2 separate regions of the Homo sapiens genome follow, and region 1 is linked to region 2. The links are contacts of gene promoters, found by promoter capture Hi-C in human tissues and cell types (Jung and others, 2019). All regions are on one chromosome and are shown on one strand. The core of a region is centred on a gene start or on the middle of the fragment in contact, and the rest is flanking DNA. Distances in the headings are between cores, read along the strand shown.

Region 1 (2,779 bases), core at 55-2,554, 34 kb after region 2:
CCTAATGCCTTCCCCTCAAAAAAGTTGGAGGATCTCACAGCAGAGGTTTAAGGATTATTTAAGAAAAGGACTGAAACCGTCCGGGCATGGTGGCTCACGCCTGTAATCCCAGCATTTTTGGAGGCCAAGGGAGACAGATCTCCTGAGGTCAGGAGTTCGAGACCAGCCTGCCCAACATGGTGAAACCCCATCTCTACTAAAAATACAAAAAATTAGCTGGGCGTGGTGGCGGGTGCCTGTAATCCCAGCTACTCAGGAGGCTGAGGCAGGAGAATCACTTGAACCCGGGAGGCAGAGGATGCAGTGAGCTGAGATTGGGCCACTGCACTCCAGCCTGGGCAACAAGAGTGAAACTCCATCTCAAAAAAAAAAAAAAAAAAGGACTGAAACCAATGTGATAGTACCTGAATGTTGTTCATTATGATTTTCCGTTAAGCAGTTGTTCTCAACCTTGTCAGCATGTTGGAATCACCTGGGGAGTTTTAACAATACCAATGCCTGGGTCCCACCTCCAGAGATTCTGACTTACCTGTTCTGAGGTGTGGCCTGAGGACTGGAACTTTAAAAGCTCCCCAAGTGATTCCAGTGTGCAAGCAAGGTTGGGGGGCATTGCCATGGAGAAAAAGGAGCAGCAGAATATTTCACTAATTACTGTTTCTTTGGAGTTCTGAAATTTCCACTTATTGTTCATTTTTAAAGGCTTGAAATTGGGCTTAGCCCAAATAAATGATGTTGACAAATGCCTAGAATAGCTAAATTATTCTTAGTAGTAGTATTTCAGTTACTGTTTTCATTACTAACTTTTGGCTTCCAAGAGCCATGTTATTAAGTTTGACAAAAGTAAACAATCACATAGAAATAACTCCAAAACACTCTGGCAAAGATAATCTATATCTGGTTAACTGAACTTTAGTCAAAATGAGCAGTTCAGATCCTTCTTTAAGACTGAAATTGCTGATGTACCTTCAGAACAGTGTAGAAAAAAAAGACTGTAATACTTATAAGAACGTAATCAGCTTTCTCAGAAAGTCACAGTTAATCTTTTATTTCAAAAGAATGAGTAATATTGTTTATTGCTTTTTCTTCAGAAAACTCCAAAGTGCTTGAGAACCACAAACCAATGCTTCTGAAATCATACCTTCAGAAACACTTTTAGTGGCTCATCATTTCCATCAACAGTGAACTATGCCCGAGGCCACATCTGTAAAGCTTTTTATGGTTCCTTTGACTTATTTAAATGTATTTTTTAAATCAAAATTTTACTTGTAAATGTGAACATTTATGTATACATATTGTATTTCAATAAAATATTTTAATTATACACATGAATAATAATTTTTTTTTTCCCAGACAGAGTTTTGCCCTTACTTCCCAGGCTGGAATGCAATGGCACGATCTCGGCTCACTGCAACCCCCGCCTCCCAGTTCAAGCGATTCTCCTGTCTCAGCCTCCCAAGTAGCTGGGATTACAGGCATGTGCCACCAGACCTGGCTAATTTTGTCTTTTTAGTAGAGATGGGATTACACCATGTTGGCTACACCGGTCTCAAACTCCTGACCTCGGGTGATCTGCCCACCATGAATAATTTTTAAAGGTCAAATAGTTCAATAAACTTGACAGTAAAAAATAGCACACCTTTCCCCATTTTTCCTTTCCACTCCCCATAAGTAACCTGTTTAAGCATTTTTTTTTGGTACTTACTACCATATTTCTAAATACCAGTTTATGAGGCCATTTTTAAAAATTTTTCAAAATTAAATATTAGCTATTCTTTTCCAAATGGAAATTCAGAATTTATTTTTCTTACATTTCCATTTTCCTTTCCTCACTTTCACTTCCTCTCATCCCATTTTTCCAATATATTTAAATCACAATTTGTGGTTAGCTTAATATTCATAGTAATTTTATTATGAACTATGTAACTGTTTATTACTGAGCCACATAGAAAATTGTGATTATATCTCCTTTCTGTGCAATTTTTTGTGCATGCAACCTGTGAATATATAATTGCCTTGGTTTTTTGTTTAATATTTCACATATTTAGCATTAATTCATTCTCAAAATATTTGTGAGAATCATAAAACTTTTCCCAATGGCTATAAACACATAGAAGTTTATCAGTGCAATTGCTTGATATTTCTCCTGGAGCCCTCTGTTCTGTCCTAGCCTAGGCTGATTGCTTTCTAGGTGGGCTACACAGCTGTCTTGACTTCATTTTACTAAAATTCAAGGAATTCCCTTCTCTGGTTTATTGTATCTTGGATTCTGTAGTTTTCTCCTTCTTGGTTTATACCTGCATATTGTCTGGATTCTATAGTTTTCTCCTTCTTGGTTTATACCTGTATTTTGTGAGGCATATCCTCCACTGGAAGATAAATTATTTAAGACCTAGTATTTCTAACTGCATTTATTCTACACTTACTATTGAGTGGTTTGTCTATAGAATTCTATGTTGTAAATAACTTTATCTTGCATTTTAGAAGACATTGCTCAAAGTCTTCTGGATTTCAGTGTTTTCACTGAGCAGTTGTAGAATGCTTTATTTCAATTGTAGTAAACTTTCAAGATGATGTATCTTGACATAGTTCATTGTAATGTATTTTTCCAGGCACTCATTAACCCTTGCAATCTGGAAATCCATGTCCTTTAATTTGGAGAAATTTTGTCTTAACTCTTTGAAAATGTCTCCCCTCTATTTGCTCTGTTTTCTCTTTCCAGAACTCTTATTTGTTGGATGTTGGACTTCCTGGACTAGATGCCCTCACTAATTTTCATATT
Region 2 (2,856 bases), core at 193-2,692:
ATCTGCGTCATAATTCTAGAGTTTGTCTTTCTTCTCTTTTTGAATAAAAGGTTTCAAAGTACAGCCTATTCGCTGGATCATGAGAATATGTTACTAAGAAGAATCACTTCATCCATGGGAAGCTGCAGTCAGCATTTTAAAGCAACACTGCCACCAGAAGACAAGAAAGAAAAGTAACTACTAACGACTACGGGGCAAGTTAAATACAAAATATTTACCTGGCCTCCCAACGCGGCTACATTACACCCTGCCTACCACCAACTCTTCAGAAAGGCTCATTCTTTCTCGCACCTCATCTTTGTAACTTTTTCCCCCCCAGCATTAGCCTATCTACTAAGACACATCAACCTAAAATCGTATCCTAATGTCCTATCTGTTGGTCTGGGTAGTGTTTACACAGGTGAACACAAATGTCGAAGTCTTTCACTGATTTTTTTTTCAAAATAAGTGATCAACATTGTGTCCTAGTAACTCCGCAACGTGTCACGGAATCGCTGAATTTGTCATTGTCCACAAGTGTAGAAAAATGTGGTCACAAGTCAGTCCTCGGCTCGCGTACGAAGAGGCGGTCTGCCCAGTGGGGACGCGGGACCCCCCTGTTTCCCCTATTTTTATTTATTTTTTACTTTTTTTGAGACAGAGTCTCACTCTGTCGCCCAGGCTGGAGTGCAGTGGCTCGATCTCGGCTCACTGCAACCTCTGCCTGCTAGATTCAAGCGATTCTCCTGCCTCAGCCTCCTGGGTAGCTGGGATTACAGGCGCCCGCCACCACGCCCGGCTAATTTTTGTATTTTTAGTAGAGACGGGGTTGCACCATGTTGGTCAGGCTGGTCTCGAACTCCTGACCTCGTGATCCGCCCGCCTGTGCTTCCCAAAGTGTGTTTCCCCTCTTAAGCAGTGGTTCGGACGGGAGCTTTCCCGGCCCGGCGCTCGCGTCCGGGATTAAAGGGCTGCCGCGGAGGGCGTGACCAGCCCAGCCTCGCCGCCGTCGCTTACCCGGTAGTTGCTCGAACCCACCCAGCCGGTGAGCGCGTCGACTGTCTTGCCTAGGCGGCCCAGGTCCTCCTCCAGGTCCGAGATGGCGCCGGGGGCGCCAAGGTAGAGCAGGAGCTCCTGGCCGACCTGCAGCCGGCCGCCGACGTCCTTCTGCTGCACCTGGGCGCAGAAGTACTCCATGCTGCGGGGCTCCATGGCTGCGGCCGCCCGCCCGCCTGCCAGTCTGTGAGCGGCCAACTTTCGCCGAGAGCCGCCCAGCCTCCAGTGCGGGTCCCCGCGGGAGCGGGCGGGACTCACTTAGCCCGCCAGGGGCGCGGCTTGCGGGGCGCAGCGGGCGGCGGGAGGAACGCCAAGCGCCCAGCCGCCCCCAAACTAGTCAAACTCGGCGCCCCCCGATCCCCAGCCCGCTTCAGAGGCCGCGGCCGCGGGCGACGTCAGCACGCGCGTGACGTCAGCACGACGCCGGCGAGGGCCCTCCAGTCCGGCTAGCGTTTTGCTGCGGAGGTGGTGGAGGTGGCTGCGGAAACCGCTGGGAGCGATAGGACCTCTAGGGAGACTTGGGGTCCGAGTTGGGCCGAGCCCCCTGGGAGGCGGGCCGTTCTTTGCTAGCCGCTGTCAGGGCACCCTGCCCTCGCCCTGTGAAATGTGGAACGTTTCCAAGTTTGCCTCCACTTGTATTCAACACTTAGGAAAGTACTTGGCATCCCCCTTTCCCGCCCCCACTGCCGGTTTAAAAAAAAAAAAAAAAAAGAATACACTCCTGACTTCTGCTTCCAGCCACCACCACAGTCACTGTGTAATACTTAAAAAAACAAAACAAAACAAAACTTAGGTTTGCCTAAAGTAAAACGCACAGATTTTCAGCGTACACTTCATGAGTTTCGGCAAATGTATTCACCCGTGGAACCGCCACCCCAGTGAGGGTACAGCACGTTTCCAACACCCCAGGAAGTCCCAGGACACTTCCCAATTATCTGCTCTTCCCTAGGCAATTCTAATTTGATTTCTAGCATGGTAACATAGTTTTCCCTGTTCCTGAACTTCATACAGTCTGTGCTTCTTTGGAGTCTGGTTTCTTTTAGCATAACGTTTGGGGTCCATCCAGCGCTGTTGGTGTCTCAGAAGTCCATTCCTTTTTATTGCTTTCCATTCTGTGGAATCACTACCATTTGTCGATCCATTCACTTGTTGGTAGATATTTGGGTTGTTTCCTATTTTTTATAATTATGAATAAAGCTGCTACAACGGTTAGTGCACAAGTTTTTGTGTGGATATATTTTCTTCTCTCATGGGTAAATAAATACCAAGGACTGGCATTACTAGGTCTTGTAAGTTGTATGTTTAACTTTAGAAGAACCTGCCAAATTGTTTACCAAAGTGACTGGATCATATTAAATCCCCACCAGCAATGCTTGAGAGTTCCAGTTGCTCCACAATATTTGATATGGTCAGGGTTATTAGTTTTAGCCATTCTGGTGGGGGTAAAGTTGTCTAATACATTCCAAAAGCACACTGTGTTTATCTTCTTGACAATTATTCCCAATCACAACAAAATGATTATTTATGTAATATCTTTCTCTTCTAATACACAGAAAGCTCCAGGAACCTTTGTGTTTTCCTAGGGTGGTGCCTAGCAAATAATGGGTGGCCAATTTAAGTTAAATGAGTGAATGAATTCAACAAAAATTGATATTTGAAATATTCACAATAACTAAGAATAAACAAACTCAAAATTCAAAGAAATTGACTGTTTTCTGTGTTCTTTTTTCAGTATTTCTGTGTTTCACATTGTATTGAGTTTGTAAAGTTTCTTCCATCTTTAATTGGTTGTAATTTCCCTCAGACTATGCCTCAATCAAG

What was found. The method cuts DNA at HindIII sites, captures the fragments that hold promoters and counts their contacts. A contact is called where the count stands out against the background at its distance.
Region 1: a fragment that was not itself captured here is called in contact with the fragment with the promoter of CLASP2 in region 2 in 1 of the 25 tissues and cell types used here (H1 embryonic stem cells).

What each region holds. Positions count from the first base shown.
Region 1 is chr3:33,750,452-33,753,230 of GRCh38, forward strand. No RefSeq gene overlaps it. Among named protein-coding and RNA genes, the nearest start is that of CLASP2, 34 kb to the left of the region's middle. The HindIII fragment of the contact is 7,887 bases long and covers 1-2,779 here.
Region 2 is chr3:33,716,812-33,719,667 of GRCh38, forward strand. CLASP2 (cytoplasmic linker associated protein 2) reads right to left here and starts at 1,443. Exons shown (of 39, transcript NM_001365631.1): 1 at 997-1,443. The coding sequence starts at 1,191. RefSeq lists a silencer at 1,175-1,514 and an enhancer at 1,715-1,804. The HindIII fragment of the contact is 13,875 bases long and covers 1-2,856 here.